Regions from separate parts of the Homo sapiens genome. Here region 1 is linked to region 2. Evidence: promoter capture Hi-C in 16 types of primary human blood cells and fetal thymus (Javierre and others, 2016). All regions are on one chromosome and are shown on one strand. The core of a region is centred on a gene start or on the middle of the fragment in contact, and the rest is flanking DNA. Distances in the headings are between cores, read along the strand shown.

Region 1 (4,466 bases), core at 82-2,581, 3.6 Mb after region 2:
TTTAAAAATGAGCCAACAGGTATATGGAAAAATGCTCAGCATCGCTGATAGAGAAATGCAAATAAAAACCACAATGAGATAACTCACCCCAGATACGATGGCTACTATCAAAAAGACAATCTTATACACTGCTGGTGGTAATGTAAACTAGTACAGCCATTATCAACAGCAGTATAGAGATTCCTCAAAAAACTAAAAACAGAACTACTGTACGATCCAGCAATCCCACAATTGGGAATTTATCCAAAGGAAAGCAAGTTAATATACTGAAGAGATATCTGCAGCCCCATGTTTATTACAGCACTATTCACAATAGCCAAAATATGGAATCAACCTAAGTGTCCATCAATGGATGAATGGATTAAAAAATGTGGTATATATACACAATGGAATACTATCCAGCCTTAAAAAAGAATGAAATTCTGTAATTTTACAGCAACATGGATGGAAATGGAGGACATTATGTTAAGTAAAATAAGCCAGGAACAGAAAGCTAAACACCATATGTTCTCACTCATAACAGAAGCTAAAACACTTGATCTCACAGAAGTAAAAAGCAGAACAGCGATTGCTAGAGGTTAGAAAGGGTAGGAGGAAGTTGGGGATAGGCAGAAATTGGTTAAAGGATATAAAATTCCAGCTATGTAGGTGGAACAAGTTCTAGTTTTATAGCACTGTAGTGTTTTATAGCACTGCAGAATGACTATAGTTAACAATGATATATTATATAGTTTCAGATAGCTACAAAAGATATATTAAATGTTCCCAACACAAAGAAATGATAAATGTTTGAGATGATAGATATGATAATTACCCTGATCTGATCACTACACATTGTATGTACTGAAACATCACTATGTACCCCATAAATATGTACAATTATTATATGTCAGTTAAAAATAAATAAATTTGAGAAATTACTTTCAAATACGGATGTATTTTACTCACCATAAAATTCAGATATGCTTTTGAAAATATGACATGGGAAGTTTAGCTCAGAAGTATATTTCATAGTAAGTTACTCTAACAAGTTTTTCTGTAGAGGGAACACCAGAGGACTAGAAAACAATGTCAAGTAGGTTTAGGCTGACACCATGTGAAGAGACAACAGAGCTTTTGAGATCACCTGGGGAAAGGTCGAGGGAAGATGAGCAGGGAGGAGGGGAAAGTGAAGTTCTTGCCAACGTTAAATGATTATTTATTCAGTTGAATGGGAAAGTCACACTGCAAGCCCCAGAAAATAATGCCTCACAATTTAGTTGGCAAATGACACCACCCACAGAATGACAGGGAAAGAAAAAAACACAAAAGCACACACTTTAGTGGAGAAGGTCCCAAGCTGAAAGCCATAGAAAAGGACTTTGGAGGAAAGCATTCTGCTTCATTTCTGTCAACCCCTTCCAAACTAAAATCTGAGGTAAAGCTATTTTTCAACTTGTACCTTCATGATTACCTAGAATCACTAAGAACATAGTTCTAAGAATAAATCATTTTAGTGGATACAGCAGTACATCCCCCCACTTATTTGTGGGTTCACTTTCTGCAGTTACAGTTACCCTTGGTCAACCATGGCCCGAAAATATAAAATGGAAAATTCCAGAAACAAAGAATTCATAAGTTTTAAACTGTGCACCGTTCTGATGATGAAATCTCATGCTGTCCCACTCCATCCTACTTGGACATGCATCCTCTGCTTGTGCAGCACGTCTATGCTGTCTACATTCCCTGCCTGTCAGTCACTTAGTAGCCCTCTGCATTATCAGATCAACTGTTGCCAGAATCGAAGGAACCCTTACTTTACTTAATAATGGCCCTAAGAGTAGTGATGCTGGCATATTGTTATAATTGTTCTACTTTTATTATTAGTTATTGTTGTTAATCTCTACTGTGCCTAATTTATAAATTAAACTTTACCATAAGTATATACATGTAGGAAAAAAACATAGTACATATAGCTTTTATTACTAACCATAGTTTCAGGTATCCACTGTGGGACTTAGAACACATTCCCTGCAGACAAGGGTGAACTACTGTTATGAGTTCAAATGAAAAATTATGTGTATTGTACACAAAAAAATTTATTTTTTAAATGAATTTGTACTGCACAATCTACAGAATGGGAGAAAATTTTTGCAATCTACCCATCTGACAAAGGACTAATATCCAGAATCTACAAAGAACTTAAACAAATTTACAAGAAAAAAACAACCTCATCAAAAAGTGGGCAAAGGATATGAACAGATACTTCTCAAAAGAAGACATTTATGTAGCCAACAGACACATGAAAAAATGTTCATCATCACTGGTCATCAGAGAAATGCAATCAAAACCACAATGAGATACCATCTCATGCCAGTTAGAATGGAGATCATTAAAAAGGCAGGAAACAACAGATGCTGGAGAGGATGTGGAGAAATAGGAATGCTTTTACACTGTTGGTGGGAGTGTAAATTAATTCAACCACTGTGGAAGACAGTGTGGCGATTTCTCAAGGATCTAGAACTAGAAATACCATTTGACCCAGTGATCCCATTATTGGGTATATACCCAAAGGATTATAAATCATGCTACTAAGACACATGAACACCTATATGTATTGCGGCACTATTCACAATAGCAAATAGAAAGGCACTATTCACCAACCCAAATGTCCATCAATGATAGACTGGATTAAGAAAATGTGGCACATATACACCATGGAATACTATGCAGCCATAAAAAAGGATGAGTTCATGTCCTTTGCAGGGACATGGGTGAAGCTGGAAACCACCATTCTCAGCAAACTATCACAAGGATAGAAAACCAAACACCGCATGTTCTCACTCTTAGGTGTGAATTGAACAATGAGAACACTTGGACGCAGGGAGGGGAACATCACGCACTGGGGCCTGTCAGGTGGTGGGGGGCTGGGGAGGGATAGCATTAGGAGAAATACCTAATGTAAATGATGAGTTGATGGGTGCAGCAAACCAACATGGCACTTGTATACCTATGTAACAAACCTGCACGTTGTGCACATGTACCCTAGAACTTAAAGTATGATAAAAAAAAATGAATTATCCCAGTTTGCAATTTAGTCTTATAAGTATCTTCATTTTTAGAAGATATGTCAAATTAAAAATGGTGTCCTTAAAACTGCAATCAATTAAAAAAACTAAAGTTGAGTATTACTCAAACTTCCCTCTTGTACAGATGCTTCTCAACTTACAAGGGGTTTATATGTCTTTATGAACAGAACATAAGTTGAAAATATCGTATACCAAAATGCTTTAATACACCTAGAACATCATAGTTTAGCTTAGCCTATCTCAAACATGCTCAGAACACTTATATTAGCTTACCATGGGGCAATCTCATCTAATACAAAGCCTATTTTACAATAAAGTGTTGAATATCTCATGTAACTTATTGCATACTATGCTGAAAGTGAAAATCAGAATGGTTGTATGGGTACCATCATAAAGTTGAAAAAAGTCAAACCATCATTAAGTCGAGGACTATCTACACTAAGCTCTCTTGAAACTTGACATAATAAGCTTATATCAAAGAACTTTGATATCTGTATCTTTTTTCATCCTCAAACAAAATGAATAACTTTTTTTTAGTTTTTAAATTTTATAGGAAAAAAATCTGAGAGGGATATATTCAGCTCAAATGACAACCAGCATCCTACTTTATTCCTAGTGTAGAAGATAAAGACTGGATTATTAGAGGCCAAAACTTCTAAATATTCATTCCTTCATTAACTTATTCACTCATTTGTTCATTTGCTTTACAAAACAGGGTCTCTACCTTCATGGAGTTTATATTCTAGTAGGGGAGGCAGATAAAAACAAGTAGACAAATGAGCAAATTACATAAGATTGTGAAGCCACGTGCGGCAGCTCATGCCTGCAATCCCAGCACTTTGGGAGACCAAGGCGGGCAGATCACCTGAGGTCAGGAGTATAAGACCAGCCTGGCCAACATGGTGAAACCCCATCTCTACTAAAAATACAAAAATTAGCCAGGTATGGTGGTGGGCGCCTGTAATCCTAGCTGCTAGAGAGGCTGAGGCAGGAGAATCGCTTGAACCCAGGAGGTGGAGGTTGCAGTGAGCCAAGATCATGACAGTGCACTCCAGCCTGGGTGACAGAGCGAGACTTCATCTCAAAAAATAAATAAACAAATAAATAAAATAAAAATAAAAAAAAGATTATGGCAAGTACCATGAAGGAAACAAAAATGGGGCAGAAACAGAAAATTGGTGGTAGTGCAGGGGATCCTAACAGATGAGATGGGGTAGTCCTGGGAGGCACCTATGAAGAGGAGACATTCAAAGGCCTGAATGGAAAGGATGTCACCATACAAACTGAAGATGTGTGATCCAAGTGGAGGGAACAGCAAATGCAAAGGACCAGAGGTGGGAATGGGACTGGCTCATTAGACTAACAACATGGAAGCCAGTATGGCTGGAAAATTGAGTG
Region 2 (4,866 bases), core at 737-3,236:
AGCTCTCCCAATTAGCACTAACAGGCCTCTCTCAGGACCTCATTTTCTGCTGCTCTAAAACTAGCTTCCCCAAATGAATTGCATTTATGTCCTGGGTTGTCAGACTGGCCTGGGTTGTCCATAGAATTCTATTGTCACATATCTAAAGCTCACTTATTATTTAAAGAACTTCAGCCATCCCACCCACCCTACCCTCAAACCTATATTTACAGTACATATCACATATTTTAAATATTATACCCCAACATATTGTGTCCTGTGATCTCCCCACGTGGACAGACCTCTACATCCTTGGAGGGAATGGAGGTATTTGTTTCCTCATAGCATGGTCAGTTATAAGTCTAAAAACTGTTGTTAACCAAATTTTAAGGTTATTTCAGTCCTATGTTTTTAAACAATAAGTAAACTAACAGTTAATAGTGCTCCAAATCTTTATGGCTTTTCTGGTCAGTCTCTTGTTCCAAAATTCAAAGATTAGGATTACAATGTTTCCTTTGCTCTCATCCCTCACACAGTGCCAGGCCTTTATAAAACACTCTCCCATGGGGGAAAAAATGCAGCCAGGCTTCTGCTCTGGCTCAAGATGACTCCTTCTTAACATACTATTCGTAAAGTGTCCTCAATTCACCTGTTATCTCCTATGCCCTCCACTTTCTTGCAAATCTGTTCTCCAACCACACTGAATTTAACCAATGTTTACTGAGTGAATTTAATTAAGCAAGGCAAAACGTGTCTTGCTTTTCCATACTTTAAGTGCTCCCTGCTCTTCTCTTTGCCTGGAATGCCCTTCCTTTTTTCACCTGACAAATTCCTAATCATCTGTAGGACCCCAAAAAATGCCACCTCCTCTAGTGAAACTTCCGCAGTTTCCTTAGACAGAGGTGGTCATTCATTAGGGTCTTCCACATCCTGATGAATTATTTGCTGACACACTCTCCTTGCTACATCCTTAGCTTTTTAGAATCAGGACTGTTTCATTCTTACATTCCCAGCACAGTGTCTGACACTCAATGAGTCCCAATAAACCAATGTCATTCATCCAAAACACACCTTTTAAGGAATGTATAATACACCCTCTTAAGAACTGTAGTCCCCTGAGTCCTCCAGCAAGACGTGTAAAGGGAATTGCCTCCGGAACACTTCTGGAATCGCAGGAAGCCTGTATTCAAGTCAAAGCTCTTACAAGTGCTATTATTGGGAACCGCTGATCAGAACGCGCTTCTCAGGACCACGTTCAGCTCATATATAAAAGCCATCGACGTGCTGCTTTGGATGAAAATCGTTTTCTCTAGATTCTCTGGGGCTACGGCTAGTCACGCTAAATATCACTTATCCCTAATAGCGCTCATATCCCTGGAGAGATTTTTAAATCAATTGCCTAACAGACCTCACTACGTACAACTTTGAACAAGTCTGTGGGGACCACAAAAGCACAGATGACAGGGTTCTTAAGGTTAACAAGGCCTCGGTCCCACACTAAGCTTTTAAAACTCGGGAGGCAGCAGTTGCAAAAGCAAGCCTCAGGCTGCTCACCTTCTAGGATGGACACGACGATGAGCAATTGGTCGGATTTGGAGACCATGGTTGCGGTGAGCGGTCCGGGGGCGAAGGCGGCTGGGGGGAAGTGAGGTCCAGTTGAGTCGCGGGTAATCCGGGACCCCCGGCGGGACCCCCACTGCCCGCCCCCGGTCCCTGATGCCCGGACCCCGCTCCGCAGCCAGGTCCCACCGCCGTCTGCTGCAGCGCGCCCGGCTCCTCTGCCTCGGGCCGCCAGCCCAGATCCTAACTGTGCCCCGACTCAAGGAAAAAGCCACGCTGCAGCCCTGCCAGTCTGCAAGCAGAGACAAGCCCGCCACCCGAGGACCTTTTGCCGCCTGCGTAGCCGCTTTTCAAACGCCCGGGCGGCCGCAGCGGCCGCCGCCGCGCCCAGCTTCCGCCTAGCAACCAGGCCCGCAGGCCCAGTGCCCAGGGGAGGTTGGAGGACAACGGGTGATAGAGACAGAGCAGTCAAGGCTAGAACGCCCGTCAGCGAGCTTCGCCTCCCGCCCTTTTACGCTCTGTTCCAGAGCCCTAAGGAGGACGCCTTCATTACCTCACAGCGCCCTCTGCTAGCCGGACGAGGAGAGGCGGGCGACTTGGTGTGGGACCAGCTGCGCAAGCGCACTACTGCTGTAAACGCTTCCTGAAGCTGCGTAGCCTTTAAGGAGCGTGAGTGTAGCGTATTACCTGCTTTATGCTTCAGCCACAACCTGAGAGTTATATTAGTGGGGATTAAAAAAACAAAAAAACCTAGCTTAGTTGACGTACCCAGTGTCAACACTGCTTAAAAAATTAAATCACAAAAAAATAATGACTTAAATCTAAACTCTAAAGTCCCTAAATCGTGCTCACGCGGCACCTCAAATTTCCGACCTTTGAAAACAAGTAGCTTCAATACGGTAATTACTGTACTTGTTAAAGCTGACGTAAACTCCCCGAGAATTTCCTGTCCCTTAGAAATTACCCCTAAAACAAAAACACTGTCACGTGGGCAATGAAATATAAAGGTTCTTCCACCCCCGATGACAAAGTTATTAGCAAACTCAAAACCAAAAATAAACAAGGCATTGAGGTGCTGTCTGCCGACCCTTTCCCCTTAACGTCTCCCAAATTCAGATTTAAGAAACGGTTCAAGACTTGTAAAGGGAACGGCCTCCTAAACACTACTCAAATTGCAAGAAGCATGTATTCAAGTCAAAGGCAAAGTTCTTTTGGAGGTTATCTAGCTTGAAACTTAAATAACCGAATTGGTTGGAGCGATCGTGGACACTATTAAGTTTGGGAAAAATTCTGCTTCGGAAAACAAAAGTAAATCATAATAAAATAAAGCTGCAGAGATAGCACTAGGTAGTGGACATAAGTGCGGCTTCTCCTATTACTTTCTGGTTTTGTAAATTGAGAAGTTGTTTTGAGAGCAAATATAATATCTCGCTGTTTTCTTTTTCTTCTATTGCTTCCTTGTTTTGGAAATTTAGAAGTTATTTTGAGAGCAAATAATATAATATCACTATTGTTTTCTTCTTCCTCTTCTTTATTCTTCCTTCTTTGCTTTCTGCCCAAAAGAAAAGGAGGAATATGTAGAGATTGGACTAATTACTTCTAAGGCCCTTTCAGGTCCTATCACAGGCATTCTTAAAATGAAGCACTATTCAATGTAAAATCAAAGTAATGATCTACTTTGGATTCATCATTGAACAATGCATTATTTTTGTGGAAGATGTCAAACATACTTTAAAGAAAGCAGAATGATATAATGAACCCCCAGTTACCCAGACCCCAGCTTCAACGATTATCAACTTAAGACCAATCATCTTCATCTGTTGTGTTATTTTTAAAGAAATCCCCAACATCACATCAATTCATCTTTTTGGATACGTACTTCTAAAAGATGAAGACTTTTTGGCCAGGTGTGGTAGTGGCTCACATCTGTAATCCCAGCACTTTGGGAGGCTGAGGTGGGCGGATCACTTGAGTCAGGAGTTCGAGACCAACCTGGCCAACATAGCAGAACTCCGTCTCTACTAAAAATACAAAAATTAGCCAGACGTGGTAGCGCAAGCCAGAAATCCCAGCTACTTGGGAGGCTGAAGCACGAGAAGGCTGAGGCACGAGAATCGCTTGAAATCATGAGGCAGAGGTTGCAGTGAGCCGGTATCATGCCACAGCGCTCCAGCCTGGGCCACAGAGAAAGACTCAGTCTCAAAAAAAAAAAAAAAAAAAAAGATAACGACTTCTTAAAGAATCTTAAAATATTAAGTATTTAACCACAATCCCATTATTACACTTAATAATTAACAAAAATTTCTTAATCCCATTAAATATATACTGTTCAAATTTCTCTGATTGTCTAATAATTTGTTTGCAGTCGGTTTTTTCAAATCAGGATCCAAACAAGTTCCAAAATACAATGGTTGGTATGTCTCTTGTCTTTTTTAATGTATATGGTTAGGCTTTGTGCCCCCACCAAAATCTCATTTTGAATTGTAATCCCCACAACCCCCAAGTGTCAAGGAAGGGACCAGATGGAGGTAATTGAATCATGGGGGTGGTTTCCTCCATGCTATTCTCCTGATAGTCAGTGAGTTCTCAGGAGATCTGACGGTTTTATTAAGCGCTCTTCCCCCTTTACTCACTCACTCTTCTCCTTCTTGCTGCCTTGTGAGGAAGGTGCCTTGCTTCCCCTTTGCCTTCTGCCATGACCATAAGTTTCCTGAGGCCTCCCTAGCCATGCTGAACTATGAGTCAATTAAACCTCTTTCCTTTTGAAATTACCCAGTCTTGGGCAGTTCTTTATAGTAGTATGAAAACGGACTAATGGAGGTACCCAATCCTTCTTTTTTTTTTCTTGAAATTCTTTATTGAAGAAACTGGTCGTGTCTGCAGAGTTTACCACAGTCTGAATTTTGTTGGTATAATACCAATGTTGTGGTTTAACATATCCTCTGTTGAGAAGTCTAATAAATATGTACACATTAACAACACTTAAAGATTAGGAAACAAATTAACCACAAGCGAAGTATAATGTTATCAGTGGTGCAAGACAGTACTTAGCATTATAGACAAAGAGAGGCCCAAGTACCTCTGATGGAATGAGTACCCCAGAAGATCAGAGTTTGGGACCTACCTTTGCTATTTGCATGTCAGGTGACCTTAAGCAAATCACTTTCCCTCTTTGAGCCTCAGTTTCAGCTATAAAACGATAGTATGCATGGTTCTTTAGTGCAGGACTTAAATGTAGTAAATGCCACTTAGTTACTATTTTTTATATGAACAATCTCAGACTTTAAGTAGTAGCTGTGAAAAGAGCCAGGAACTGTCCATCAGCAT

Evidence for each region. The method cuts DNA at HindIII sites, captures the fragments that hold promoters and counts their contacts. A CHiCAGO score of 5 or more calls a contact.
Region 1: a contact is called between a fragment that was not itself captured here and the fragment with the promoter of CEP120 in region 2, in 1 of 17 cell types (neutrophils). The highest score is 6.4, in neutrophils.

The regions. Positions count from the first base shown.
Region 1 is chr5:127,014,220-127,018,685 of GRCh38, forward strand. The region is part of intron 1 of MARCHF3 (membrane associated ring-CH-type finger 3); the gene reads right to left. Among named protein-coding and RNA genes, the nearest start is that of MARCHF3, 14 kb to the right of the region's middle. The HindIII fragment of the contact is 4,406 bases long and covers 1-3,534 here.
Region 2 is chr5:123,421,417-123,426,282 of GRCh38, forward strand. CEP120 (centrosomal protein 120) reads right to left here and starts at 1,987. Exons shown (of 20, transcript NM_001375405.1): 1 at 1,534-1,987. The coding sequence starts at 1,582. RefSeq lists an enhancer at 1,253-2,198 and a silencer at 1,528-1,687. The HindIII fragment of the contact is 3,797 bases long and covers 1,480-4,866 here.